Regions from separate parts of the Homo sapiens genome. Here regions 2, 3, 4, 5, 6 and 7 are each linked to region 1. Evidence: promoter capture Hi-C in 16 types of primary human blood cells and fetal thymus (Javierre and others, 2016). All regions are on one chromosome and are shown on one strand. The core of a region is centred on a gene start or on the middle of the fragment in contact, and the rest is flanking DNA. Distances in the headings are between cores, read along the strand shown. Region 1 holds the start of CELF3 (CUGBP Elav-like family member 3). Region 2 has its middle 8.9 kb from the start of PSMB4. Region 3 has its middle 7.4 kb from the start of RFX5. Region 4 holds the start of SELENBP1 (selenium binding protein 1). Region 5 overlaps PI4KB (phosphatidylinositol 4-kinase beta). Region 6 overlaps POGZ (pogo transposable element derived with ZNF domain). Region 7 overlaps PI4KB (phosphatidylinositol 4-kinase beta).

What was found. The method cuts DNA at HindIII sites, captures the fragments that hold promoters and counts their contacts. A CHiCAGO score of 5 or more calls a contact.
Region 2: a fragment that was not itself captured here is called in contact with the fragment with the promoter of CELF3 in region 1 in 1 of 17 cell types (M2 macrophages); the score reaches 5.4 in M2 macrophages.
Region 3: a fragment that was not itself captured here is called in contact with the fragment with the promoter of CELF3 in region 1 in 2 of 17 cell types (M1 macrophages and M2 macrophages); the score reaches 6.1 in M1 macrophages.
Region 4: a contact is called between the fragment with the promoter of SELENBP1 here and the fragment with the promoter of CELF3 in region 1, in 2 of 17 cell types (M1 macrophages and M2 macrophages). The highest score is 7.5, in M1 macrophages.
Region 5: a fragment that was not itself captured here is called in contact with the fragment with the promoter of CELF3 in region 1 in 1 of 17 cell types (erythroblasts); the score reaches 6.7 in erythroblasts.
Region 6: a fragment that was not itself captured here is called in contact with the fragment with the promoter of CELF3 in region 1 in 12 of 17 cell types (M0 macrophages, M1 macrophages, M2 macrophages and 9 more); the score reaches 12.4 in M0 macrophages.
Region 7: a contact is called between a fragment that was not itself captured here and the fragment with the promoter of CELF3 in region 1, in 1 of 17 cell types (erythroblasts). The highest score is 5.5, in erythroblasts.

Annotation. Positions count from the first base shown.
Region 1 is chr1:151,715,484-151,719,295 of GRCh38, reverse strand. CELF3 (CUGBP Elav-like family member 3) reads left to right here and starts at 2,493. Exons shown (of 13, transcript NM_007185.7): 1 at 2,493-3,420. The coding sequence starts at 3,276. It also overlaps a transcript of RIIAD1 not described here. RefSeq lists an enhancer at 2,269-2,563. The HindIII fragment of the contact is 2,919 bases long and covers 1,608-3,812 here.
Region 2 is chr1:151,388,764-151,392,587 of GRCh38, reverse strand. No RefSeq gene overlaps it. Among named protein-coding and RNA genes, the nearest start is that of PSMB4, 8.9 kb to the left of the region's middle. The HindIII fragment of the contact is 9,586 bases long and covers 1-3,824 here.
Region 3 is chr1:151,352,612-151,356,699 of GRCh38, reverse strand. No RefSeq gene overlaps it. Among named protein-coding and RNA genes, the nearest start is that of RFX5, 7.4 kb to the right of the region's middle. The HindIII fragment of the contact is 5,255 bases long and covers 1-4,088 here.
Region 4 is chr1:151,371,284-151,375,446 of GRCh38, reverse strand. It overlaps SELENBP1 (selenium binding protein 1), which reads left to right and starts at 2,742. Exons shown (of 12, transcript NM_003944.4): 1 at 2,742-2,809. The coding sequence starts at 2,806. RefSeq lists enhancers at 2,221-2,804, 2,805-3,388, 4,135-4,163. The HindIII fragment of the contact is 17,083 bases long and covers 1-4,163 here.
Region 5 is chr1:151,315,151-151,318,871 of GRCh38, reverse strand. PI4KB (phosphatidylinositol 4-kinase beta) reads left to right here. Exons shown (of 12, transcript NM_001369623.2): 2 at 2,363-3,299. The coding sequence starts at 2,391. Among named protein-coding and RNA genes, the nearest start is that of PI4KB, 10 kb to the left of the region's middle. The HindIII fragment of the contact is 375 bases long and covers 2,198-2,572 here.
Region 6 is chr1:151,410,379-151,414,504 of GRCh38, reverse strand. It overlaps POGZ (pogo transposable element derived with ZNF domain), which reads left to right. Exons shown (of 19, transcript NM_015100.4): 11 at 2,109-2,209; 12 at 2,734-2,880. Among named protein-coding and RNA genes, the nearest start is that of PSMB4, 13 kb to the right of the region's middle. The HindIII fragment of the contact is 318 bases long and covers 1,586-1,903 here.
Region 7 is chr1:151,295,551-151,299,537 of GRCh38, reverse strand. PI4KB (phosphatidylinositol 4-kinase beta) reads left to right here. Exons shown (of 12, transcript NM_001369623.2): 9 at 465-730. Among named protein-coding and RNA genes, the nearest start is that of ZNF687, 15 kb to the right of the region's middle. RefSeq lists an enhancer at 3,033-3,987. The HindIII fragment of the contact is 2,461 bases long and covers 1,152-3,612 here.

The DNA of each region.
Region 1 (3,812 bases), core at 1,244-3,743:
TCTCAGGGCTCCCCTGCCTTTACCTCACAGGACTCCCATCCCATGGCCTGAAAGAACACCAGAGATGTGTTCACCGTCACTCAGCAAGGAGAGTCTGATGAGTGGTACAACTCTTCTCCTCTAAACCCTGCCTCTTCTCTCAGACTGACACCTTTGGGGACCACAAACTAAGCAAAGGACTGGACGCATTTTGCTGTCTGCAGCTGTCTCCCCAATTACTGACTGGGAGGAGGAGTGAGGGGAGTTCATTTTAATTCATTTTTGTGAATGTTTAATATTTCAATTAATATGATTAGCCCCAAGCCTGAATGAGCAGCAGGGCGGCAGATCTGCTGAGAAGACATAGAGTAATGAGATCAACAGGGCCATAGGGTCTTCCCCTTCTCCATCCTCAGAGGACATGATCTGTTTAGCATCTCCATAAATACCAAGATCAGATTAGAAGGCAAGGAAAGGAGCAGTGGGGGTGGGGTAGGTGAGTGGAAAGTTACTTTCAAGATGTGTGTGCCCTTCTTGATTCCCTGGCTCTGCCGTCATTCGCTTCTTCTGAGCACCCACCACTGAGTCCTCTAGCACCTCCCCCCACTGCCACCCCATCTTAGGGGACCCTACTTGGGGGACCCGGGCATCCATGTGATGAAGTGTAATCAAGTCTACACACATACACATTCACTCAAATGCAAGCACCTGCCAGAGCGTGGCTCCAGGCCACAACAAAAAAACAGGCTAAGGAAGGATGGGAGGTGGTCCACAGAATCAAGCAGTAAAAAGAAAGACTCTCTCTCATCCAGGGCTTAAATGGAGACAGAAGAGGAAGAAAGGCCAGACTTCACCACTGCTCCCATTCTCAAGAGGAATGTTTGATGTGGGAGTTAAATGCGTGGACTCAGGAGCCAGACTGCCCAGGCTCCAGTCTCAGCTAGACCTCTTTCTAGCTGCATGGCTTTAGGCAAGTTATTTCAGCTCTGTGTCTTGGTTACCTCCTCTCTATTTGGAGATGACAAAATCTACATCATAGGGGGGTGGTGAGGGTTTAGGAGTTAGTAAATATAAAGCACTTGGCACAAAGCCTGGGACACTGTAAGAGCCATGTAAGCACTGGCTGTTACTATTATTTCCCTTCCAGAAGAGAAGCCTGCCTGCCGTGATAGCTCAGGAATGGAGGCCCCTGGGACTCAGCTGGGACACAGTTTAGAGACACGAGTGCCTCTGTGGAAACAGCAGCCCTACCCCGGGGGAGAAGAAGGGAATGACAGGAAGACAGGGTGCTCTACAAAAGCCCAGAGCCCCAGGAGAGCCCCCGTTGCTGAGCACTGACAGAAAGCAAGGGCTACCACCACTGACAAGGTTTGATGTCCACAGATAATCCCTGCACTGAGGGCGTGCTCTGAGTGGGCCCAGTGCATGGAGGGGTCACGCTCCCTCCAGATCGTGGAGCCTGCCAATCATCCATAGAAGTATCCATGGTCAGGGGAGCAATGGTCCCCGAATGTGCCTCCCCTGCTCTTCTGTGCTACCTGGCTCAATTTGAGTCCAACTCAAAGAACCCAACTGAAGAAAGAAGCAAAGGAAAGAGTAATTGGGTTTCTGCATCCTAAGGGGAAGCTTGACAGCTGTGGTTCTTCCCACTGAAGGAATCAGGAATCCACTGTTGTCAGAGGTTGTTTGCATGGAGTGTTTGTTAAGCTCCTGCTACGCATGAGCAAGACAGGGTGCTAGACACTGTGAACAGTAAGATGCTGAATTAAACGGTGTCCTGGTCTTCAAGGAGCTTACAAGTGAGAGCGCCCGCGGCGCCGCCTCCGCGGCCTCCCTGCCCACGCACTTATACACACAAACCCCCCAGAGGGAGAGAAGGGGGCATCGGCAAATGCCAGAAAGCTATCGTTTTTCTTGGTTCCTTTTCTGGAAAATATACAGTTCTCTTTCTGCATTCTTCTCATCCTGCTCCTCCTTCTCCACGTCCCTTTCCATTTTTCCTCTCTGCATTTTTTCTTTTTCCCCCAGACTCTGCGACCTGCTTCCCTCTCCATCTATATCTCCTTTCCCTTCAGCCTATGCAACCGTCCTTTCTCATTTTTCTTTCCCCTGATTTCTTTCCTTGACTCTCTACTCTTGGGGCTCCCCAGATGCCGGGCTCCCCTCTTTCCCCGCCACCCCCCATCTGCTGAGTCTTCCAGCACCGGGGACAGCTCCAGCCCCCGGAACAATGGACCCCACTTTAGGGTTCCTCTATAAATTCTCCATCTTAGTGCTTTGCCCAACTCCTGACTGGGGAGTAAGATGGGGGAAGGGTTATTATCAACAGGACCAGCTGCTCTTCTGGGGGCGGGAAGGGAGTCAGGGAGGATGGAGATAGAAAGAGGGCGTGGCTCGTGCCTGGATTGTGCGTCCCTCTCCAGGGTAGAGAATTTGTATTCGACCCCTGAGACTGACATCACTGATGTCAGGGGAAAGGAGGTGGGAGTGGGGAGGGGGGTGTGGAGGGGGGAGGTTTTTGTTGAGGAGAGCGCGGCCGGAGAGCAGAGCTCCGGGACCCAGGTGACCGGGAAAGCAGGCAGCCCCAGCGGCGGGAGCAGCCGGCAGCAGCCCAGGCCCGGGGACTGGGGTGGGGGTGGGAGGGGGGCTGAGGGGAGGACCTGAAGGGGGGCGGCAGGGCAAAAGGGACCCCTGGAGCCCTGCCGCCATCAGAGATCAAGCATCTGGCATCAGGGATCTTCGGACCCAGCAGAAGGATCCGCCACAGGGGAGGTGTCCTCCCAGGGAAGCCAACGAGAGATTCACCTGCCCCACATCAGGAGTGGGCCCCCCTTACTGACGCTGCTGGCAACCATAGCAGGCCCCTTAACCCCTCAGTCTCCTCCCCATCACCCTCCTCAGGCCCTTTCCCCGCCTCCAGCTCTCATCTCAACTCCCAGTTCCCAGCCCTCTAAGCCCTAGCACCCCCGGCTACCACCTAACCCTCCAGGTCTTGGCCATACTCACCCCCATCCTGGGACATTTGCCAGATCTCTGGGAGGGAGATCGTTTGTTTAGGCGATGCCCCCTGGTGGCATGACAGCGTCTGCCTAGACCCCTGACCCCTAGCACTCAACTCCCTGGGCCTCCTTTGTGTGAAGAGCCGCCCCTCTGCTTAGCAGCGTGGTTGGGGGCCAAAGGGAAAGCCAGCCCCAGCTGGGCCCCCGGGCCCCACCACTTATCTCCTTGCTGGGCAGCTCCCCTTGGCCTTTGGGCCTCTCCCTGCTCCCCTCGGCCCCTCCTCCTGGGCCGCCTCAATGAAGGAGCCGGATGCCATCAAGCTGTTTGTGGGGCAGATCCCGAGGCATCTGGAGGAGAAGGACCTGAAGCCCATCTTCGAACAGTTTGGTCGGATCTTTGAGCTGACTGTCATCAAGGACAAGTACACCGGGCTGCACAAGGGTGAGGGGTCGGGCAGGCTGAAGAGGCTTCGGGGTGGGCTGGGAGGCTGGGGGAAGTTAAGCCAGGCTGGAGGGGTGGAGCGGCTGGGAAGGGCTGATGTGGAAGGAGAAGAGTTCAGGCCTGAGGAAAGTGGATGGAGGAGCTGAAAAAGAACTCAGCTAGAGTGATCAGGAAACCCCGGTGAAGGACTAAGGAGGGCCTCTTTTGGCTGAAGAGTTGTCAAGACGGCTGCAAAGATGTGGATCCCAGACATATGGGTGTGTTGATGTCATGGGATGAACTCAAGAAAGAATGGAGGGACAAGAGAGCTGGTTTGGGAGATAAGCAGCTGGGTAGGGGTGTGTGTGTGTGTGCGTGTGCAGCAAGACTGAGAATCTGAGCAGCCTCAGATA
Region 2 (3,824 bases), core at 366-2,865, 330 kb after region 1:
GCAAATATCTTGAGGAGGAGAAGACCAGTTGAGTAATTGAGGCTCTTCTCCCTGCTCTGCCTCAGCAGATCTTCATTTTTTAATCAATAATTCCAGACCATAGGAGATTCAGTCTGCCTTTTAGGAGCTTTTAGCCTGACTCTCCAGGCTCCTGCACATTCCCAGTGTTCAGCAAATATTCCATAGGTAAAACTGGCCATAGTTAGAGGCCCCTTAAGTTTCCAACTTGCTTTGCATGGCCACCAGAAACTTTTGATGGTCTTCCCAAGGAGAGGCATTCTGTCTAGGTTAAACCCAATCCTAAGTATATACTCAACTCACCTCAGAAAAGTTCTCCCCTCTCTGAAATTTTAGTTCATCTAGTCTTCATTCCTTCCTCAGCCCTTTGGTGGCATTGCTTAAAATAAGGCCAGGCACAGTAGCTCACGCCTATAATCCCAGCACTTTGGGAGACCAAGGCTGGCAGATCACTTGATCCCAGCAGTTCAAGTTCAAGGCCAACATAATGGGACCTTATCTCTACAAAAAAAAATTTTTTTTAATTAGCCAGACCTGGTGGTGTGCACCTGCAGTCCCAGCTACTCAGGAGACTGAGGTGGGAGACTGGCGTGCACTCAGGATGCCGAGGCTGCAGTGAGCCATGATGGTGCCATTGCACTCCAGCCTGGGTGGCAGAGAGAGACTCTGTCTCAAAAATAAGGAATAAAAATAAGGCCAGGCACGGTGACTAACACCTGTAATTCCAGCACTTTGGGAGGCCGAGGCGGGCAGATCATGAGGTCAAGAGATCGAGACCATCCTGGCCAATATGGTGAAAACCCATCTCTATTAAAAATAGAAAAATTAGCTGGGCATGGTGGTGGGCGCTTGTAATCCCAGCAACTCGGGAGGCTGAGGCAGGAGAATCGCTGGAACCAGGGAGGTGGAGGTTGCAGTGGGCAGAGATCACGCCACTGCACTCCAGCCTGGCAACAGAGTGAGACTCCATCTCAAAACAAATAAACAAATAAATAAATAAATAAAAATAATAAAGTTGAAAAGAATAAACACACATTCAGAACACGTTATTCCCCTGAACCACTAGGCCTGGCCCACCCCGTTCTGAGCACCTCTCATACTGGGAAAGCTCACAACCAGGAATGCCCAGAAGATCAACAGTTTACACATTCAGTTCTGTACCCTCTGTTCCTCTGATGTTCTACCTTCAAGGGTTCACTGAACTGTGTAACTCCCAAGTTCTGGAATAGGGAGAGGAAATTTTGTGCTCAACCTCCACACCCTTCTCAGACCAGTGAACCTGTCTGATTATGGATATTCAGATTTTCCCCTAATCTGTGCTAAATCAAACAAATAAAATCAGAGACTGGCAATGAGAAGGGCAGTTCTAACATGCTTCCTGCCAAGATTATGCTCCAGAGTCATAGTCCTTTAGTCGGGGTAGATTAGAGTCAAGGTTTACACCTCTAGGCAAAGGTCACTGAGGTTTGAGGCAATGTTTAAGGCTTTGTGCAGTGGCTCATGCCTATAATCTCAGCACTTTGGGAGGCCAAGGCGGGTGGATCACCTGAGGTCATGAGTTCGAAACCAGCCTGGCCAACATGATGAAATCTCGTCTGTACTAAAAATACAAAAATTAGCCGGGTATGATGGCGGGTGCCTGTAATCCCAGCTACTTAGGAGGCTGAGGCAGGAGAATCACTTGAACCCGGGAGGTGGAGGTTGCGGTGAGCCAAGATTGTGCCATTGCACTCCGGCCTGGGGAACAAGAGTGAAACTCTGTCTCAAAAAAAAAAAAAAAAAAAAACTTGATAGCACCTAATAAAACTGAAAATTACACATGCTAAATTACCCAATAAACCTATAACATAGAGACACTCACATGTACACGTTAGGAAACATTCAAGAATGTTCATCAGAGCATTGTTCGTAATAGCAAAAAAATAGAAACAGTCTAAATGCTCATCAAGGGGGAGTAGATAAAATGCAGTATATTATTACAAAAGAATACTACAAGGTAGCTTAAAGGAAAGAACCTAACATATCAAACACATTGTTGAGTGAACCAGATAAACCACAGAATGACATATATGATATGGTACCATCTGCGCTAATTTAAACACACAAAACAACACTAAGAATGTGGGCAGGCGAGGGTGGGGGATGCGCGCGCATGTGTGTAAAATTGAGTCATAGTGGCAGTTGAAAATGAGTTTTATATAGTCTTACTTATAATGACACTCTGGGAAAAAAGTAAGGAACTTCTGAAACATTTTCCAGCAATAAAAAATAAATGAAAGCGGCCGGGCGTGGTGGCTCATGCTTGTAATCCCGGCACTTTGGGAGGCCAAGGCGGGCGGATCACGAGGTCAGGAGATCGAGACCATCCTGGCTAACACGGTGAAACCCCGTCTCTACTAAAAATACAAAAAATTAGTCGGCGTGGTGGCGGGCGCCTGTAATCCCAGCTACTCGGGAGGCTGGGGCAGGAGAATGGCGAGAACACGGGAGGCGGAGCTTGCAGTGAGCCGAGATCACGCCACTGCACTCCAGCCTGGGCGACAGAGCGAGACTCCGTCTCAAAATAAATAAATAAAAATAAATGAAATCTGCCAATTATAATGGAATTAAAGCAGGAAGTAGGCTTTCCTGGGGAAAGGGGAGGAAGGGAGTAACTTGGTCCCTGGAAAGGGAAATGGTGGGTTGAGAGAGGTTATAATACGATTTTAGATTTCAGCATTACTATAAAATTTTTTTTTGACAGATGAGTTCTCACTATGTTGCCCAAGCTGGAGAGCAGTGGCTATTCACAGGCAAGATCCTTATGCCACTACAAATGGCTTTGAGACTTTGAGAGAGACTCTGTTTGTTTGGAAGAAAATACAAGAAGAGAATAGGAATTTCTACCTGGTAATCCAGAGAATTATTTTGGCTCTTATTCAGGACCACCAAGGTGGTACTCTATGAGGCTGCAGGGACCACAGCATTACTGAGCTTGGGGTGCCGCCTAATGCAGAGACAGCTTAGATGACAACACCTAAGTCCCTTCAAATACCTGGAAAGCCTTCCCAAGAAGGACAGGTACGGCCGAGCGCGGTGGCTCACGCCTGTAATCCCAGCACTTTGGGAGGCTGAGGCGGACAGATCACGATGTCAGGAGTTCAAGACCACCCTGGCCAACATAGTGAAACCCCGTCTCTACTAAAAATAAAAAAATAAAAAAATTAGCCAGGCGTGGTGGCGGGCGCCTGTAGTCCCAGCTACTTGGGAGCCTGAGGCAGGAGAATCGTTTGAACCCAGAAGGTGGAGGTTGCAGTGAGCCGAGATTGCACCACTGCACTCCAGCCTGGGCTACCCAGCGAGACTTTGTCTCAAAAAATAAAATAAAATAAAATAATAATAATAATAATAATAATAATAATAATAATAATAAGGCTGGGCGTGGTGGCTCATGCCTGTAATTCCAGTATTTTGGTAGGCCGAGGTGGGCAGATCACCTGAGGTCAGGAGTTTGAGACCAGCCTGGCCAACATGGTGAAACTCCGTCTCTACTAAAAATACAAAAATTAGCCGGGCGTGGTGGCAGGTGCTTGTAATCCCAGCTACTTGGTAGGCTGAGGCAGGAGAATCGCTTGAACCTGGGAGGCAGAAGTTGCAGTGAGCCGAGATAGCGCCATTGCACTCCAGCCTGGGCAACAAGAGCAAAACTCTCCCAAATAAATAAATATACAAAGTAAAAATTACCCAACTTCACTCTTTTCCCAAGTAACCTTCATTTTTATCTTGTGTCTTTCTAGACTGTTTTTATCCACATGCAAACAGAATTA
Region 3 (4,088 bases), core at 608-3,107, 360 kb after region 1:
AAACAAATTCAACCACAATAGCAACAAAAACTTCTATTTAAGGCCAGGCGCAGTGGCTCACGCCTGCAATCCCAGCACTTTGGGAGGCCAAGGAGGGCAGATCACTTGAGGCCCGGAGTTTGAGACCAACCTGGCCAACATGGTGAAACCCCATCTCTACTAAAAATACAAAAATTAGTTGAGCATGCTGGCACACACCTGTAGTTACAGCTACTCAGGAGGCTGAGGCAGGAGAATCGTTTGAACCTGGGAAGCAGAGGTTGCAGTGAGCCGAGATTGCATCACTGCACTCCAGCCTGAGCAACAGAGCGAGACTCTATCTCAGAAAACAAAACAAAACAAAACCTCTATTTAAGTGGCCCTGTGTTTGCAATGACATGGAAGTGAATACGGCAGGATACTTATCAGAACATGTTACCTCAGAGGGGTGAGATTTTTTATGAAACTTGACAAGCTCTTTCTAAAACTAGCCTGGAAATGCGAATGTATACTGTTCCAGTTACCTAGTGCTGTGTAACAAACTACCCCAAAACTTAGTGGCTTAAAGCAATGACAACATTACTTTTGCCCACAGATCTGTAGTTTGGACAGGGCTCAGCAGGAACAGCTTGTCTCTGCTTGGTGTCAGTGGAGGCAGCTTAAAGGCTAGAGGCTAGAATCATCTGATAGCTCACTTACTCACATGTCTGGAGACTCATGCTGCTGTCACTTGGACCTTCAGCTGGGGCCAGAACATCTACACATGACCTTTCCATATGGCTGCTTGGCTCCCTCACAACATGGTAGCTGGGTTCCAAGAGCGAGTGTTCCAAGAGAGAGCAGCAAATGTGAAGGTGTGTCACCTACTCCAGCCGACACTTGACAGTCACACAGCATCACTTCCACCACATTCCAATTACTGAGCCTGTCACAAAGGCCTTCCCAGGTTCAAGGAAACAGGGGACTAGACTCCATTTCTTTCATTTATTTATTTATCTATGTATCTATCTGTTTATTTATTTATTTATTTTTGAGACGGAGTCTCACTCTGTCACCCAGGCTGGAGTGCAATGGCATGATCTCAGCTCACTGCGACCTCTGCCTCCTGGGTTCAGGCAATTCTTCCGCCTCAGCCTCCCACATAGCTGGGATTACAGGCACCCGCCACCACATCCAGCTAATTTTTTGTATTTTTAGTAGAGACAGAGTTTCACCAGGTTGGCCAGGCTGGTCTCAAACTCCTGACCTCAGGTGGTACACCTGCCTCAGCCTCCCAAAGTGCTGGGATTACAGGTGTGAGCCACCATGCCCGGCCGACTCCACCTCTTGACAGGGAAGTTGTAAGGTTCTGAAACAGTGTGTGGAACCAGAAACATTGTGGCCACATTTGGAAAATACAATCTTCCATATATAGGAATAATTTTTTTAGTTAATAAAACCAATAACAGAAGACTCTCAGCATTAGATTTCAAAATATACTATACTTTGAAATATAGTATTTCAAAACATTAACTAAAACAGTGTGTTATGGGTGGAGAAATAGACAAAAAGAATCAACAAAAGAGACATGCGCCTATAATCTCAGCTACTCAGGTCACCAAGGTGGGAGGATCACTTGAGCCAAGGAGTTTGAGGCTGCAGTGAGCTAGGATCCTGCCACCGCACTCCAGCCTGGGTAACAGAGTGAGACTCTGTCTTAAAAAAATAAAATTAAATTAAAATTTTTTTAAAAAGAGAGGCTAAGATCCAGAAATACACCTAACTATACAAGGAAACTTAGTATACAATAAAAGCATATGATAAAACTGTAAAAGGAAACAGTTAAAAGAAGAAGAAAATGATAGTATATATTGAAATGGCTGGCCATTCATTGGAAAACAAGCATATTAAATTAGATGCTATGTAAGGTGTTACTAACTGCCAAACAACCATTCCCAAACTCTTTTCCCTTGCTCACTATAGGTAACTTCTATCCTTAATTTTATGGTCATGATTCTATTGCTTTTTATTAATTATTTTTACCACCTATGTATTTACCCATAAACAATATATTGTTCAGTTTTGCCTGATATTAAATATTTATAAATTGCATTGCACTGTATGTTTTCTTCTGGGTTTTGGTTTTTTCACTTTCTGAAGTTCATCCAGTGGATGTGTGTGGCTGTAGCTCATTAATTTCCACTGCTCTATGACATTCCATCCAGTGAATATATCACAACTTATCATTCTAGGGTTGACGGATATTGGGTCATTTCCAGTTTTTGCTAATGCAAGCAGTGAGACTATAAACTTTACTGCCTGTGTTTTTAGGGCATATGTCTAAGAGCAGGATTACTGAGATATTAAATGTAAATTGAAATACTCACATATTCGACTTCACCAGGTAATATCAAACTATTTTCCAAAACAGTTTTACCAAATTACACTCCCGCAACAGTGAATGAAAGCGCTTGTTGATTCATAACCATGTCAACCCTCAATATTGCCAGACTTTAAAACTTTTGCTGTGGCTCACACCTGTAATCCCAACACTTTGGGGGGCCAAAGTGGGCAGATCGCTGGAGCTCAGGAGTTCAAGACCAGCCTGGGCAACAAGGTGACACTCTGTCTACACAAAAAATACAAAAAAATTAGCTGGGTGTGGTACCGTGCCTGTGATCCCAGCTACTCGGGAGGCTGAGGTGGGAGGACTGCTTGAGCCCAGGAGGTCAAGGCTGCAGTGAGCCATGATCACGCCACTGCACTCCAGCCTGGGTGACAGAGCAAGAACCTGTCTCAAATAAAAAAAAAAGCCAATTTAGTGGGTGTGAAATGGTATCTTCTAAAATTTGCATTTTCCTGATTATTACATAGGGAATAACTTTTCATATGTTTATGAGCCATTTCTGCTTTTTTTGTGAAATTCCCATCCATTTTTCTAGTTTGTTATCTTTTTTTTCTTTTTCTTTTCTTTTTTTTTTTTTTTTTTGAGGCAGAGTCTCACTCTGATGCCCAGGCTGGAGTGCAGTGGTGCGATCTCAGCTCACTGCAACCTCTGCCTCCCAGGTTCAAGCGATTCTCCTACCTAAGCCTCCCAAGTAGCTGGGACCACAGGTGTGCACCACTATGCGCAGCTAATGCTAATTTTTGTATTTTAAGTGGAGATAGAGTTTCACCATGTTGGCCAGGCTGGTCTCAAACTCCTGGCCTCAAGTGATCTGCCCATCTCAGCCACCCAAAGTGCTAGGATTACAGACGTGAGCCACCATGCCCAGCTGGTTATCTTTTTTTGTAGGAAGTCTTCAAAAATTCCAGATAATAATCCTTTGTCAGTTATATGTCTTGAAAATATATTCTCCCAATTTGCAGCTTGTCTTTGTATTCTTTTTTATTATTGTATTGTATTGTATTTATTTATTTATTTATTTTTACCTATTTTTTTGAGACAGGGTCTCACTCTGTTGCCCAGGTTGGAGTGCAGTGGCGCCATCTAGGTTTACTGCAACCTCCGCCTCCCAGGTTCAAGTGTTTCTTCCGCCTCAGCCTCCCAAGTAGCTGGCATTACAGGCACACGCCACCACAGCCCAGCTAATTTTTATAATTTTAGTAGAGATGGGGTTTCACCATATTGACCAGGCTGGTCTTGAACTCCTGACTTCAAGTGATCCACTCATCTCAGCCTCCCAAAGTGCTGGGATTACAGGCATGCGCCACTGTGCCCAGCTGTTCATTTGTTTCTTTCTTTATTTATTTTTGAGACAGAGTCTCACTGACACCCAGGCTGGAGTGCAGTGGTAAAAAAAAAAAAAAAAAAAAAAAAAAGCTCCAGATACAGTGGCTTACGCCTGTAATCCCAATATTTTGGGAGGCCAAGATGGGCAGATCACTTGAGGTCAGGAGTTCAAGACCAGCCTGGCCTACATGGTGAAATCCCATCTCTACCAAAAATATAAAAAATTAGCCGTGTGTGGTGACACGTGCCTGTAATCCCAGCTACTCGGAAGGCTGAGGCAGGAGTATTGCTTGAACTCGGGAGGTGGAGGTTGCAGTGAGCCGAGCTTGTGCTGCTGCACTCCAGCCTGCGTGAGAAAGCAAGACACTGTCTTAAAAAATAAAAAAAAAATTCACTC
Region 4 (4,163 bases), core at 1,493-3,992, 340 kb after region 1:
GGTCTGTTAATATAAGGAGAAATGAGCAGAACAGGGCTCTGAAACTCTACTTAGCTGGTGAAAACTCCAACCTCTCCAGCCAGTCCTGCCTCAGACCTCCATGGGCTGCTACCTTTATGCCTTACAGGCATTTTGTGCACGTTTGTGCTTTTTGGTTTGTTTGTTTTAGTTCTTTTGTACTGTTTGTTTGCATATAATTCTGTACCCATACATACCAAGCAACCCCACCTAATGCTGCATCACCCCTACATTACCCTACTCCTTCACAGCACTTATCTGAAGTGATTTTATTTATTTGTGTATTTGCATGATTATCAGTCATCTCCCCTAAAAAGTCATCTCCATGAAGGTAGCAACTTTGCCCTGTTCACCACTTTGTCTACCATATCTGGCTCAAAAGAGGTGCTCCAGAGGGAAGGATAGGCAGCTGGTTGGGAGAGCTGTAGCTCAAAAGGGACCGGGGCCAGTCCTTCTCCCCAGCATGGGCCCTCACTGTGGCCCTCACCTGCACTGCATGTGACCTTCCATCCTTCCTTTCATCTTCCTTATAGTTTTTCTTTTAATATATTTATTTGAGCTTTTAGTTACAAAAGCAGTACTTATTATTTTTTTAAAAATCCAAAATTAACTTTGGGAGACCAAGGCAGATCACTTGAGCCCAAGAGTCTGAGACCAGTCTGGGCAACATAGTGAGACCCCCCATCTCTACAAAAAAAATTTAAAAATTATCCAGGTCAGCCAGGCACGGTGTCTCAGGCCTGTAATCCCAGCACTTTGGGAGGCGGAGGTGGGTGGATCACTTGAGGTCAGGAGTTCGAGACCAGCCTGTCCAACATGGTGAAACCCCGTCTCTACTAAAAATACAAAAATGAGCCAGGTATGGTTGTGGGCACCTGTAGTCCCAGCTACTCGGGAGGCTGAGGCAGGAGAATCGCCCCTCTACCTTTACTGCCTCCCTCTGTAGCCCAGATTAGGATAACTTCCCCAACCACCTGCTGGCTGTAGAGCAAGAGTTCAGGGAGAAAACCACAGGCAGAGGTGAGGGGTGCCATGGAGTTGCTGCAGAGACCAGCCAGGTCAGAGCTCAGGAGCATGAAAGAGGTAGTCAATGACAGACCACAACAAACAAAATAACAGCCTTTTTTTTTTTAAGTTAATGACTCAATAATTTTTTATGAGAAGGTGGGGATAAAGTTTCTTTCTCTTTCAGATCTTGGGTGGTGGACTAACCCAAGCCAAGAAGCCGGAGAATAGAGAGGAGGCAGGAGATGGAGACCTCAGGAGGAGGAAGAGGGGAGGGCCAGAGGGAAGGGTGAAGGCAGGGTGAGTGGAGGTAGTCAGGACAGGAGGAAGCTGGCAAAGACAAGGAAGCAGCCTTCAGGGCCTTCCCCGTGGGGCAGCTGCACACACAAGACTCTCTTTGATGCCTGGCAGGCTGATGGCACAATGGTGAGGATAATAGATGCAGGATGGAGCCAAGAGGGGTTGAGTGGCGCTGGGGATAAGAGAAGACCCTTGCCCCGGGCAGCCACAGGGAGTCTTCCTTGATGGGCACATGATCCCTCACTGATGGGAGCCAGGAAGACAGATACCCAATGCACCAAGGCCCAATTTTGCTCCCCTTCCCCCACTCTGGTTTGGAAACCCTGTATTCTACTTGCAATCTCAAGCCCAGACTTTATTCTTTTTCCTAGCCAATAAAAACTTCACCCCAGAGCTTTTATCCAAAGAGTATGAATATCTGGAATAAGAGGGCAATCTTAGGGAAGAAGTGACCCTGGCTGATGGGCCCACAGTCCCGGGTGCCCCTAAATGCTAAGAGACAGGTCCAAATACAAAGACGAGCATTTGGAGACACAGGAACACATACGTGCGCAGGCTTACACAAGCACATGCACAGCCACATAGCCACACACTACACATACACAAGCACTTATGCACATGTCCACACAGGCGTAGATACTCTAGCAAGCACATACTCACAGAGGCGCGCACACACACACACACACACACACAGGCGTAGATACTCTGGTAGGCACATACAGAGGCGCGCACACACACACACGCACAAATACACACAAGCACACTCACAGGCACATTCACACACGTGGAAATTCACACACAGGCACAGATACACACTCATGCAGGCACGTGCACGAGCAACACGCAGGTATACAGGAACACACACATGCCCAGACACACAAATCCACACACACCCAGGCACCCACTAAAGAGCACGAGCTGGTCAGGGGCAGCGGCTCACACCTGTGATCCCAGCACTTTGGGAGGCCGACACGGGTGGATCACCTGAGGTCAGGAGTTTGAGACCAGCCTGGCCAACATGGTGAAATCCCTTCTCTACTAAAAATACAAAATTGCTGGGCATGGTGGTGGGTGCCTGTAATCCCAGCTACTCGGGAGGATGAGGCAGGAGAATCACTTGAACCCAGGAGGCAGAGGTTGCAGTGAGCCGAGATCGCACCACTGCACTCCAGCCTGGGCAAGAGTGAGACCCTGTCTCTAAATAAATAAATAAATAAATAAAGCACAGGCTCCCACACATACACACTTAAACACATACACGCACACCCCATAATTCAAACACCAGTTGCCCTAGGCCACTTGAGAGTATCCTGGCCAGCTGCCCTGAGTAGTTTACTCTGGGCTACAGCCCGGGCCCTCCTCCTTCTCTGCCCCACCCCCAGCTGGTTGTATAAATTCCCTCCCTTCGCTCCTTCCCCGGAACAGCGGCCTCTGACACCAGCACAGCAAACCCGCCGGGATCAAAGTGTACCAGTCGGCAGCATGGGTAAGGAGAGGGGTTTCCAATCACCCATTGCCTGCTCTGTCTGCCCCTAATTTGGAAGGCCCTCCTCCAGAAAATGCTAGAAAACCTGAGTGGGGAGCTGGGGAGGGAGTAGTGGACTCTGCTTCATTGTCCCCAGTCTGCACACCCCCTCCCCCACCACCCCACTGCATTTCCCAGCTCAGCCAAACTTTCTGAGGAAGACGGGCAGAGGCACTGCTGGGAGATGGGATCCTGGGCCCTGACTTGGCTCCATCCAGCAGAGGCTGGGACCAGGGTGCCTTTCTGCAGCTGGGAAAATCAGATGGGCGCTCTTAGAAAACACCACTAGGTCCCTGGCCCTCACATAGTAGAGAGGTGATCCTGATTTCAGCCATGGGCCAACTTTGTACTCCAGCGAGGTAGGGAGTCCAAAGCCTTTCTGTGCCCAGGTCACTCTCTAGCTACTCCACACAGCAAAGCTCTCTGGGAGGGAAATCAGAGACCCCCACACTCTTTCACTGGGGACCTGTTTCAATGCCTCCCCCACCCCTAAATCCCCCTTGGCCCTGCTATTCCTCCATCTGTAGGCTTCTGGGTGACAGGCTAAGAAGGAACTGAGGTTTGGTTGGGAGGTCCTTCCCCGCTCGGGGCTGGCTCTTGAGCTGGCAGAATGCCGAGCTGGCAGAATGCCCAGCAGCCAGCCTGACATGGAAAACCCACTTGAGCTTTCCATGAGTCCATCCCAAACCCAAAGCTGCTCCGAGACCTTGCTTGAGATGTTTCAGATGGGGGTATTCCCCAGAAAGAGGAATGATGCTCCCTGGGGCTGCAGTGGCATGCCAGGCCTGACCCTAAGAAATGCTGGGGCTGGGGTTGCTGGGGTGTGGGGTGGGCCGAGGCTGCAGAGCGGGCAGCTCCATCTCTGCACTTTTACTTCCCTCTCAGCTTCTCCCTAGCTTTGTATTTTTTGTATCTCTGTCTTGAGGTCTTGGAGTTTTAAAATCTCCTTTCCCTTCTGTATCCAGCAACCTCCTTCCCCACCCCCTGTCATCTGGTGCCAAGCCCCGACTTAGCAAGATTGTGTAACAGAACCAGTCTCCTTAACTCCTGTGAACTGGACCTCTCTCTCTCTCCCTGCCCCACCTCCAGCCCTCTCGCTGGGCATCGAGCACTCCCTGGCATTCTCCTCTCCTCTGGCACAGCCCTTCCCATATTTACACAGTAATTCATTATTTTTTTTTTTTTTTAGTCAGAATTTCACTCTTGTTGCCCAGGCTGGAGTGACTGCAGTGGCGTGATTTCGGCTTACTGCAGCCTCCACCTCCCAGGTTCAAGTGATTCTCCTGCCTCAGCCTCCCAAGTAGCTGGGATTACA
Region 5 (3,721 bases), core at 1,136-3,635, 400 kb after region 1:
TTTTAGAGCTGCCTTCTTCTAAGTGAAGCCTGGCATGGTATTTACTGGCCTTTATTTTCTGGGAACTTCGAGTTTAAAAGGGAAGGTAAAAAAATACCTGTAACCAGAAAAATATATCAAGACTTTAATTTTATTTATTTATTTATTTATTTATTTATTTGAGACAGAGTTTCGCTCTGTTGCCCAGGCTGGAGTGCAGCGGTGCGATCTCGGCTCACCACAACCTCTGCCTCCCGGGTTCAAGCGATTCTCCTGCCTCAGCCTCCCAAGTAGCTGGGATTACAGGCATGCGCCACCACGCCCAGCTAATTTTGTATTTTTAGTAGAGACGAGGTTTCTCCATGTTGGTCAGGCTGGTCTCGAACTCCTGACCTCAGGTAATCCGCCTGCCTCAGCCTCCCAAAGTGCTGGGATTACAGGCGTGAGCCACCGCGCCCGGCCTTTTTTTTTTTTTTTGAGACAGAGTCTCACTCTGTCTCCAGGCTGGAGTGCAATGGCGTAATCTCGGCTCACTGCAACCTCCACCTCCCAGGTTCAAGCAATTCTCCGGCCTCAGCCTCCTGAGTAGCTGGGATTACAGGCGCCTGCCACCACGCCTGGCTAATTTTTGTATTTTTAGTAGAGACGGGGTTTCACCATGTTGGCCAGGATGGTCTCGATCTCTTGACCTCGTGATCTGCCCACCTCGGCCTCCCAAAGTGCTGGGATTACAGGCGTGAGCCACTGCGCCTAGCCAAGACTTTAATATTAAATAAAGATGGCTGGGCAAGGTGGTTCACACCTGTAATCCTAGTGCTTTGGGAGGCTGAGGCAGGAGAATTGCTTGAGGCCAGGCGTTCAAAGCTAGCCTGGGCAACACAGCAAGACGCCATCTGCACAAAAAAATTTTTTTTTAATTAGCTGAGCATGATGGCACACACCTAAAGTCCTAGCTACTCGGGAGGCTGAGGCAGGAGGATGCCTTGAGCCTAGGAGTTCAAGGTTACAGTGAGCTATGATCATGCCACTGCACTCCAGCCTGGGCAACAGAGCAAGACTTGTCTCTAAAAAATAAAAATAAAGGTGAGATGCACAGGACCTGTGTGTAGAATGTTATATGAGTAAGGAAATATAGTCTAAAGTGGAAAATAAAAAGGTTATAGCAGGCATTTAAAGGGAGACAGGAAGAGCAAGTGGATAGAAAAGTATTTGAAGAGTTAGGGAACAAGGGAGTAACACCTGACTTGCTTCTCAGTCTACCCGAAGAATCTGTAAATCACCAGGCATGGTGGCTCATGCCTGTAATTCCAACACTTTACGAGGCTGAGGAGGGAGGATTGCTTGAGCTCAGTTCAAGACCAGGCTGGGCAACATGGTGAGACCTTGTCTCTACAGAAAAATTTAAAAAATTAACCAGGCATGGAGGCACATGCGTGTAGTCCTGGATACTTGGGAAGCTGAGGTAGGAGGATTGCTTGAGCCCAGAAAATCAAGGCTACAGTGAGTTCTGATCGCGCCACTGCACTCCAGCCTGGGCAACAGAGCAAGACCCTGTCTCAAAAATAATAAGATTAAAAATTTAAAAATAAGCCAGGCATGGTGGTGTGCACCTGTGGTCCCAGCTACTTGGGAGGCTGAGGTGGGAGGCTTGCTTGAGCCCAGGAGGTCAAGGTTGCAATGAGCCCAGATTGTTCAACTGCACTTCAGCCTGGGTAACAGAGCAAGACCTTGTCTCAAAAAAAAAAAAAAAAAAGAATTTGTAAATGTAGGCCAGGTGCAGTGGCTCACGCCTGTAATCCCAGCACTTTGGGAGGCCGAGGTGGGTGGATCATGAGGTTGGGAGATGGAGACCATCCTGGCTAACATGGTGAAACCGTGTGTCTACTAAAAATACAAAACAAAATTAGCTGGACGTTGTGGTGGGCGCCTATAGTCCCAGCTACTTGGGAGGCTGAGGCAGGAGAATGGTGTGAACCCGGGAGGCGGAACTTACAGTGAGCTGAGATTGCGCCACTGCACTCCAGCCTGGGTGACAGAGCGAGACTCCGTCTCAACAACAACAACAACAACAACAACAAAAAGAATTTGTAAATCTATATAAATACAACATATACAAAACAACATTTCACATATATAAGCTAAGAACAGAGGCTAAGCTGAGTAACTACAGGAGGAATGACGAGTAATGTAATCAGAAGTGGAGGTAGTCAGGAAAGCTTCCTAGGATATGTCTTCTTATCTGATTTTGAAGGAGTCCAGGAAGACAAAAAGAGGAGGTGCCTGGGAAGGTGTCATAGCAAAGGGAAGATCTGAGGATGGCACCACTAACCAATGTGTGTATGTGTCTCCCTTTCTGTTCTTTTCTCCCTCCCTCTTCCTGTAGCTTGGAAGCTCGAAGTCTGGCTGTGGCCATGGGAGATACAGTAGTGGAGCCTGCCCCCTTGAAGCCAACTTCTGAGCCCACTTCTGGCCCACCAGGGAATAATGGGGGGTCCCTGCTAAGTGTCATCACGGAGGGGGTCGGGGAACTATCAGTGATTGACCCTGAGGTGGCCCAGAAGGCCTGCCAGGAGGTGTTGGAGAAAGTCAAGCTTTTGCATGGAGGCGTGGCAGTCTCTAGCAGAGGCACCCCACTGGAGTTGGTCAATGGGGATGGTGTGGACAGTGAGATCCGTTGCCTAGATGATCCACCTGCCCAGATCAGGGAGGAGGAAGATGAGATGGGGGCCGCTGTGGCCTCAGGCACAGCCAAAGGAGCAAGAAGACGGCGGCAGAACAACTCAGCTAAACAGTCTTGGCTGCTGAGGCTGTTTGAGTCAAAACTGTTTGACATCTCCATGGCCATTTCATACCTGTATAACTCCAAGGAGCCTGGAGTACAAGCCTACATTGGCAACCGGCTCTTCTGCTTTCGCAACGAGGACGTGGACTTCTATCTGCCCCAGTTGCTTAACATGTACATCCACATGGATGAGGACGTGGGTGATGCCATTAAGCCCTACATAGTCCACCGTTGCCGCCAGAGCATTAACTTTTCCCTCCAGTGTGCCCTGTTGCTTGGGGCCTATTCTTCAGACATGCACATTTCCACTCAACGACACTCCCGTGGGACCAAGCTACGGAAGCTGATCCTCTCAGATGAGCTAAAGCCAGCTCACAGGAAGAGGGAGCTGCCCTCCTTGAGCCCGGCCCCTGACACAGGGCTGTCTCCCTCCAAAAGGACTCACCAGCGCTCTAAGTCAGATGCCACTGCCAGCATAAGTCTCAGCAGCAACCTGAAACGAACAGCCAGCAACCCTAAAGTGGAGAATGAGGATGAGGTAAAATTCTGGGGAGGGCCAGAGACAAAAGGTGGTAGAGGGCTGCATGGAGACAGGATGCCTCCTATATACACACAGGGTTACGCTGTTCTTTCTGTCCTCCCTGTTTCATTTCACTGATAAAAGCATGGAATGTTAGAATGGAAAGGCCTTAGAATTCATGTATTTTGCCTGCCTTAGTTTACAAAGGAAGAACTCAGACCCAGAGAGATAAAGTGAGTTGCCTCAGGTCATATAGGTCATGGCAAGGCTGACGCTCCTGACTGTGTCCCAAATCATTTTTATTAAACTGCACTGGCCAGGCGCGGTGGCTCACGCTTGTAATCCCAGCACTTTGGGAGGCTGAGGCAGGCAGATCACGAGGTCAGGAGTTTGAGACCAGCCTGGCCAACATGGCAAAATCCCATCTCTACTAAAAATAC
Region 6 (4,126 bases), core at 495-2,994, 300 kb after region 1:
AGCCAACACATGTAAATCTTAACCTGATGCTTGTACATTAGAAATTGCTTAATAAGTGTTTTTATTATTGATGTTGCATGACAGCTGTGAAAATAGAGCTGATAAATAGGTTATAGGAGAAAGAGTGAATGAGATTGCCCAGGGAAAACATAGACTAAGAAAGGCCTGGACAAAATATTGCTTAAAGGTGTTCTAGAAGAGAAAAATGAGAGAGGTAAACAAATCGGGGGGTGAGTGGAAAAGAGATAATATCGTTATGTTGCTAGTTAACTGTTTCCCAAACATGTGGTTAACTTTCATACCTACTTGCCTTTCCTCCTGCTTTTCTCTTGGTCCTCTCTCTGGCTGGCTGAGCCCCATTCTTTGACAATTCAGCTTTTATATGTTGTTATAGCTTTTCCTCATTCCTTTATGCAGAATTTCTTATTTATCCATGTCCTCATAGCACCTAATGTACCTGTAGACAGTGTTTCTAAATGGAGTTGCAGACCTCTTTGAGAATAAATATGAAATGTTTGAATCCTCTTCCTAGAAAAATCTACATTTTACTCTTTTGCAAATAATTTCAGAGAAAGCCTGGATTCCTAGAGGCCTGTTCCATAGACCCCAGATTAAGAACCCCTGGCTTTTGTTTGTTTGTTTTACTTTAAAAAATTACTTGGCTAGGCACAGTGGCTCATACCTGTAATTCTGGTACTTTGGGAGGCTGAGATGGGAGGATTGCTTGAGCTTGGGAGGTCAGGGTTGCAGTGAGCCATGATTGAGCCACTGCGCTCTAGCGTGCGAGACAGAACGAGACTCTGTCTCAAAACAAAAATCCAGGGTTCTCGGTAGTTAAAAAAAGAAAAAAGAATTATTTCAACTTTATTCATATTTCTTTGGCTGGGGTGTAGGGGGCTGGGGGCGGGGGGAGGTTAGACATTGTCCAGTAAATGCCCAAGGCTTTAAGCTTCCAGTTTTCATATTTGCAAAAACTTGAAACTAATTCCATTAAAGTGACAAAAATGTAAATAATCTCTCTCTTTTTGCCATACTGTATAATTAAAAATATGTAGCAGTTAAAAGTCTTACCAAAATTGGCCGGTGCACTGGCTCACACCTGTAATTCTAGCACTTTGGGAGACTGAAGTGGATTGACAAAAGGATTGCTTGAGGCCAGGAGTTTCCGACCAGCCTGGGCAACATGGCGAGACCCTGTCCCTACAAAAAAAAATTTTTTTTAATTACTTGGGCATGGTGGTGCACCACTGTAGTCCTAGCTACTTGGGAGGCTGAAACAGGAGGCTCGCTTGAGCTCAAAGGATAGTCCTAGCTACTCAGGAGGCTGCGGTGAGCTATGATCATGCTCCAGCCTGAGCAACAGTGAGATTCTGTCTCTTAAAAAAAAAAAAAAAAAAAAAAGCCCAGGCACGGTGGCTCACACCTATAATCCCAGCACTTTGGGAGGCTGGGACAGGTAGATCACCTGAGGTCAGGAGTTCGAGACCAACCTGGCCAACATGAAATTACCAAAAATTGTCTCAGAAGTTTGACAAAATTGTTCATTTGTGTCATAAAATTTTGTCAAAATTTTTTCTCATAAGCTTGACAAAATGGACAATTTCAAAGAGAGTAGGAGGTATTGGAGGCCAGCTGATTAGCAGTGGGAAATCATATGGGCTAGTACCAAGTTTTTGCCTTATTATAAGTATAGAGAAGTGACAGTTCCTACATGCAGTTTGAAATAATGGTGACAGAATGCAGGGTTTGGAATCCGAGATAGTGCCTAAATTTTGAGCTCAGGAAGAAATGGGGAAAGGAAAAAGGGAAACAGTGGTAAGACAGGAGGATGCTGAATTAGGTTAGAGTTGACGATAGAATAACCAATTTAAAATGTCTTATAGATAAAATCTAGAATGAAGCTTTGGTAAGAAGTCTGAGCTACGTACATAAGATTATCAGCAACATATATGTTAAGGTGGAGCCATTTAAAGAAAGAACAGAAGGGACCTATGATTTACTGATTGTTGAAAATCAAAATAAAGGAGGCAGAGAAAATAAAGATTGTGAGTCAGCAGGACTTTTGTCTTATTTTCAAGTGGATTTATTGATTACTTTTCTTCTTACAGCCAAGTGCAAGATCTGTGAATGGGCGTTTGAAAGTGAGCCACTATTTCTCCAGCATATGAAGGATACTCATAAGCCTGGAGAGATGCCTTATGTTTGCCAGGTATTGCCTTTTTCTCCAGGGAGTTTTAGCAGTTTTGCCCTCAGGAAGAATACAAAGAATTTACTAATGAATATTGTTGACCACCTACTGCATACACTCAGTTTAGGAACTCTGAGTAGGTACAGAAGAAATAGTAAACACAGTTTATCTTCAGGGTTTCCATGCAGGAGAAAAACATAAAAGAACATGTCCACAAGTAGACTAGCCGGGAACATGTGCATATTCTAAGGGAGTGTCTGTCTCCTGAACGTGCCCTTTGGAAATTGACAGAAAAGGCTTTATTTTTCTTAGTTAGAGAACATGGATTATTCTTAGACTTTCTGTCCCTTCCTATTTTTAAAGTAATAGCTAAACCTATCACAAACATAGCCCAGCATTACAAAGTCAGGAAAATAATTTGATTTCTATGCATTTGAGAAAACTTTTTTTTTTTAATTTAAAAATTTTTGTTGCTACCTTTTTTTTTAAGGCCTCTCAGTTGTTCACTTCATTCTTAGCCTTATTTTCCCTCCTATGTGACTCAGGTGTGTCAATATCGCTCCTCACTCTACTCTGAGGTAGATGTCCATTTTCGGATGATCCATGAGGATACCCGGCATCTGCTCTGCCCTTATTGCCTGAAGGTCTTCAAAAATGGCAATGCATTCCAACAGCATTACATGAGGCACCAGGTACTAGGCACCAAGCAATTCCCATATTCTCTTGTTTTTTTTTTTTTTAAACATGGATGCTGGGGCCAGGGCTGAGCTAGGCAAATAATTTGGGCAGAGATTATAATATGCATATGTTTGCAGAAATTTATTGAATTCACTTAATGTGCCATGTACTAGTCTAGATGCTAGAGATTTAGTAGTAAACAAGGCAAACAATACAATAAAACATGAAGAGTACTGTGTTGGGGAAATTATAGGATATAGAAAATCACATAGCTATTCTGGGTGCCTAGTAAGGCTTCCAGAAAGAAGTGTTGTTCAATACCTGAGGGATGAATAAGAATGAGCCAGATGAAATAAGACGAAGAACAGTGTGCCCAAGGCACAAAGCAAAATTGTGGAGGTTCAAGAAATTGAGAGAGATTCAGTGTAGGGTGTAAGAGACAGAGGGGTTGGAAGTTAGGCAGGGACAGATCATGGAGGATCTTTTAAGCCATGAAAAGAATTCACTGGGAAGCCACTAAAGGGGTTTTAAGCCCTGGAGTGATGTGTTCAGCTTTAGTTAAGGCTTTATACTGCCTGCACTGCAGAGAATGGATTAAAGGAGATTGAGACTACAGTTAGGGAAACTAGCTAGAAGGCCTTTTTCAGTAGTTTAGGTGAGAGATGATAGTGGCTATTGGCTTTTGAAATAAAAAGAGGGTAGAGTTGAGAGATATTCAGAAGATTTGTGATATTTATGATGTAGAGATGGATTAGGTGAAGGTAGCAATGCAGTAGTTAAGAATAGTGCCTAAGATTCTGTCTTGGGCAGTTGGGTGAATGAGGGAACTATTTGCTGAAATAGAAACAATAGAGAAAGTATATTTGTGAGGGGGGAGATCATGAGCTTGGATATTGTAAGTTAGCAGTATCTGTGGATGTCAAGTGTAGCTGTTGGATAATAGATCTCAAGCCTGTGAGAGAACTCTGGGTTGTAGAAAAGATTTAGGAATCAGCGTTATATAAATCCTATAGATTTTAAACTTAAATACCATGGGCCCCCCAACCCTGTTGAGAATAAGAGAAGGCTTAGGATATTTGAAGTCCCTTATCTATAAAGCAACCACCATAGTACTAGGAGGAAAACCAGAAGAGTCTTAACCTTAAGGAAACTGGGGAGAAGAAAGTGTTTTAAAGAAAAGGGTGTGATCAAAATGTCATATGTTACAGGAAGGTGTCAAGCAACATAGAGACTTAGAAACAGGCCTTTAATTTAGCAACA
Region 7 (3,987 bases), core at 1,133-3,632, 420 kb after region 1:
CTGTATTTTTAGTAAAGACGAGGTTTCACTCTCTACTGAGGTTGGCCAGGCTGGTCTTGAACTCCTGACCTCAGGTGATCCGCCCTCCTTGGTCTCCCAGAGTGCTGGGATTACAAGCATAAGCCACCGCACCTGGCCTCTTTTTTCTTATTATTTGAACTTACAGCTCCCATTCTCCCTGCTTGAGAGGGGATAGTGAAGTTTCCTGTTCTCCCTGCCTGTCTTGGGCTTTCTACTTAGGTGATACCTTTTCCCACATACCTGAGTGTAGTTTCTGACTTTGTCAGGCCCTAGACTTCCTTTCCAAACTCCCTGGTCCTCACTGGGTTAAGTGAGTCTTACTCATTTGATGGCTTAGAATTCAATGCTACCAAGGAGAGAGGCTGGAGAAAGGGAAGAGTTTTAGCCTTCTTCTCTAGTTTGGAGAAAGATAAGAGTCCTGTATCCTCCATGTCTCCTCACAGTCCATTTGGGAACAGGAGCGAGTGCCCCTTTGGATCAAGCCATACAAGATTCTTGTGATTTCGGCTGATAGTGGCATGATTGAACCAGTGGTCAATGCTGTGTCCATCCATCAGGTGAAGAAACAGTCACAGCTCTCCTTGCTCGATTACTTCCTACAGGAGCACGGCAGTTACACCACTGAGGCATTCCTCAGTGCACAGCGCAATTTTGTGCAAAGTTGTGCTGGGTACTGCTTGGTCTGCTACCTGCTGCAAGTCAAGGACAGGTAGGTGACTTCTGCTGCTCATCCTAACATTTCTCCAGGGTTCTCTCTGTCCCTTCGTGTGTAGTTCTCAATTACTTATTACTGCCCTCCATGGCAAAGATGTGAAAAATGAAACAATGTATTTTAAGCAGAGACAGATGTGTTCCCATGACATTAAGTCAGGAGGCAGACTAATAAGAACTAGGGTAAAAGGGCAAAGAAATGAAGGATTTATGGGAGGACTAAGGGTTTGAGTGAGCAGGGTCTTCAAGGACAAGGGAAAATGATGACAGAGGAAGCTGCAGGGGAGGTACATCCCAGCTAGAAGAAATAATTGAATGTGATTAAAGCACAGACTGCACTGCATGGCAGTGGAGTAGGAGGTGGTACCATGAGGCAGGTAAATTGAGGCCAGTTGAAGAAGGGCCTTCATTGTGAAGCTTAGGTGTTTTATTTTGCAGGCAGAGGAATGACATGATCCAGTCTGTGTTGATTAAATGCCCTGTGGCACTGTGGGTGAAGGTGGATGTAATTGGGTGTTTAGCAACAAAGCAAGAGATAATAGGGCCTGGCACTAAGGGTAGTGGTTAGTGACTGAGAGCAGAAAGGAGAAACATGATGGAGATGAAGTGGAAACTCTCAGCCATGAACTCTCCTCACTTCTTATTCCAGCATATGATTTCCACAGCTTTTAAGTATCTGTTGTTTTGCCCAGAGCTGTCATTTTTTTTCAATATGACATGACCTTGATGAAAACTAACTACACATATAGGTGAGGCACATAATGTACAAAAATAATTACACCATCTAGGCCCTGCCTTCTAAGAGTATCTCCCAACAGTGACCCAGGGTCTCTGCCCTGAATGCTCCTATGAGTTCCAGCTCTAGACCCTCGGCACAGGGCAGCTGTCCTGGAAAGGTGGAAATGCAATGGCCAGTGCTGCTGGGGCTTCCAGTAACATGGTGGCCCATTAAGATCTAGCTAATAATGGCTGGGTGTGGTGGCTCATGCCTATAATCCCAGTACTTTGGGAGGCTGACACGGGTGGATCACCTGAGGTCAGGAGTTTGAAACCAGCCTGGCCAACATGGTGAAACCCCATCTCTACTAAAATACAAAAAGAAAATTAGCTGGGCCTGGTGGCAGGCGCCTAATCCCAGCTATTTGGGAGGCTGAGCAGGAGAATCACTTGAACCCGGGAGGCAGAGGTTGCAGTGGGCCAAGATGGCACCATTGCACTCCAGACTGGACGACAAGGGTGAAATTCCAACTCAAAAAAAAAAAAAAATTTATATATATACATACACATACATACATACATTAGCTGGGCTTGGTGATGCACACCTGTAATCCCAGCTACTCGGGAGGTAAGGCAGGAGAATTGCTTGAACCCAGGAGGTGGAGATTGCAGTGAGCCAAGATCATGCCACAGTACTTTAGTCTGGGCAACAAAGCGAGTCTCAAAAAAAAAAAAAAAAAATCTAGCCAACAAGGCCGAGGCAGGAGGATCGCTTGAGCCCAGGAGTTCGAGACTAGCCTAGGCAACATAGTTAGATCCCGTCTCTACAAAAAATAAAAATTAGCCAAGCATGGTGGTATACAGCTGTGGTCCCAGCTACTTTGGAGGCTGAGGTGGGAGGATCACTTGAGCAGGAGGTTAAGGGCAACAGAGTGAGACCCTGTCTAAACAAAACAAAACAACTAGCTAGCTAGCTAGCTAACAGAGCAGCTTATTAGAAATGTAGCATCTAGGCTGGATGCAGTGGCTCACGCCTGTAATCCCAACACTTTGGGAGCCTGAGGCAGGTGAATCACCTGAGGTCAGTAGTTCAAGACCAGCCTGACCAACATGGCAAAACCCCATATCTACTAAAAATACCAAAAATTCACCAGGCGTGGTGGCGCATGCCTGTAATCCCAGCCACTCAGGAGGCTGAGGCAGGACAATTGCTGGAACCCGGGAGGTGGAGGTTGCAGTGAGATGAGATCGCGCGACTGCACACCAGCCTGGGTGACACTGAGACTCCATCTCAAAAAAAAAAATAAAAATTAGTCTTAGGCTGGGTGTGGTGGCTCACGCCTGTAATCCCAGCACTTTGGGAGGCCGAGGTGGGCAAATCGCCTGAGGTCAGGAGTTTGAGACCAGCATGACCAACACGGTGAAACCCCATCTCTACTAAAAATAAAAAATTAGCTGGGTGTGGTGGCGGGCGCCTGTATTCCCAGCTACTTGGGAGGCTGAGGCAGGAGAATCACTTGAACCCAGGAGGCAGAAGTTGCAGTGAGCCAAGATCGCACCATTGCACACCAGCCTGGGTGACAGAGTGAGACTTCATCTCAAAAAAAAAAAAAAGAAATCTAGCATCTATTAAGTTCTGCCATGGCCTGACATTCTTATATTTAAACCAGATGAAAACCCTGTCAGACACGTGTTTCCTCATGAGGGAAATAACAGTCAGGTAGCTTTTAGACCCTGTGCTCATTCCACCCTGCGCTCATTCCACCCTGCCAGCCCTACAAATGGACCCAGGCTCTGCATTTGAGAGCTGTAGGAGAATGTAATATTTTTGTGTGTGTGTGTGAGACAGAGTCTTGCTCTGTTGTCCAGGCTGGAGTGCAGTGGCGTGATCTCGGCTCACTGTAACCTCTGCCTCCCAGAGTTCAAGTGATTCTCCCACCTCAGCCTCCTGATTAGCTGGGATTACAGGCATGCGCCACCACGCCCAGCTAATTTTTGTATTTTTAGTAGAGACGGGGTTTCACCATCTTGGCCAGGCTGGTCTCAAACTCCTGACCTCAGGTGATCCTCCTGCCTCAGCCTCCCAAAGTGCTGGGATTACAGGCGTGAGCCACTGCATCCGGCCGAGAATGCAATTATTTATAAGGAATTTGATTGCAAGCTTCAGACTATCTCAAAGTGTCAGGATTTTGAACTCAGGGCCCAGGGAGCCTAGAGCTCAGTCCTGGGATTGAGTAAATGGGTGGCAGGGAAGCTGGCACTAGTCAGGCCCCAGGGCTTTCCTTTAGGGAATTAGTATGTTTGGAAGATGAGAGTCCATCCTCTAAAAAAGAAGGGATAGAGGAGGGCAGGTAGCTGATAAGCCGTTCATAGTACCTCAAAAAAGAATAGATATAGTCGAGCCATGAATGGAATCAACCAATGGAAAGAAGTGGCAACAATGAATGAGGCCCCATACTGGAGTCAGGTTTTAGGATCTCTTTAACTGCTTCAAAAGTAGTCCTAAGCAGCTTTCCAGCTGGAGCTAACTCTGGTAGT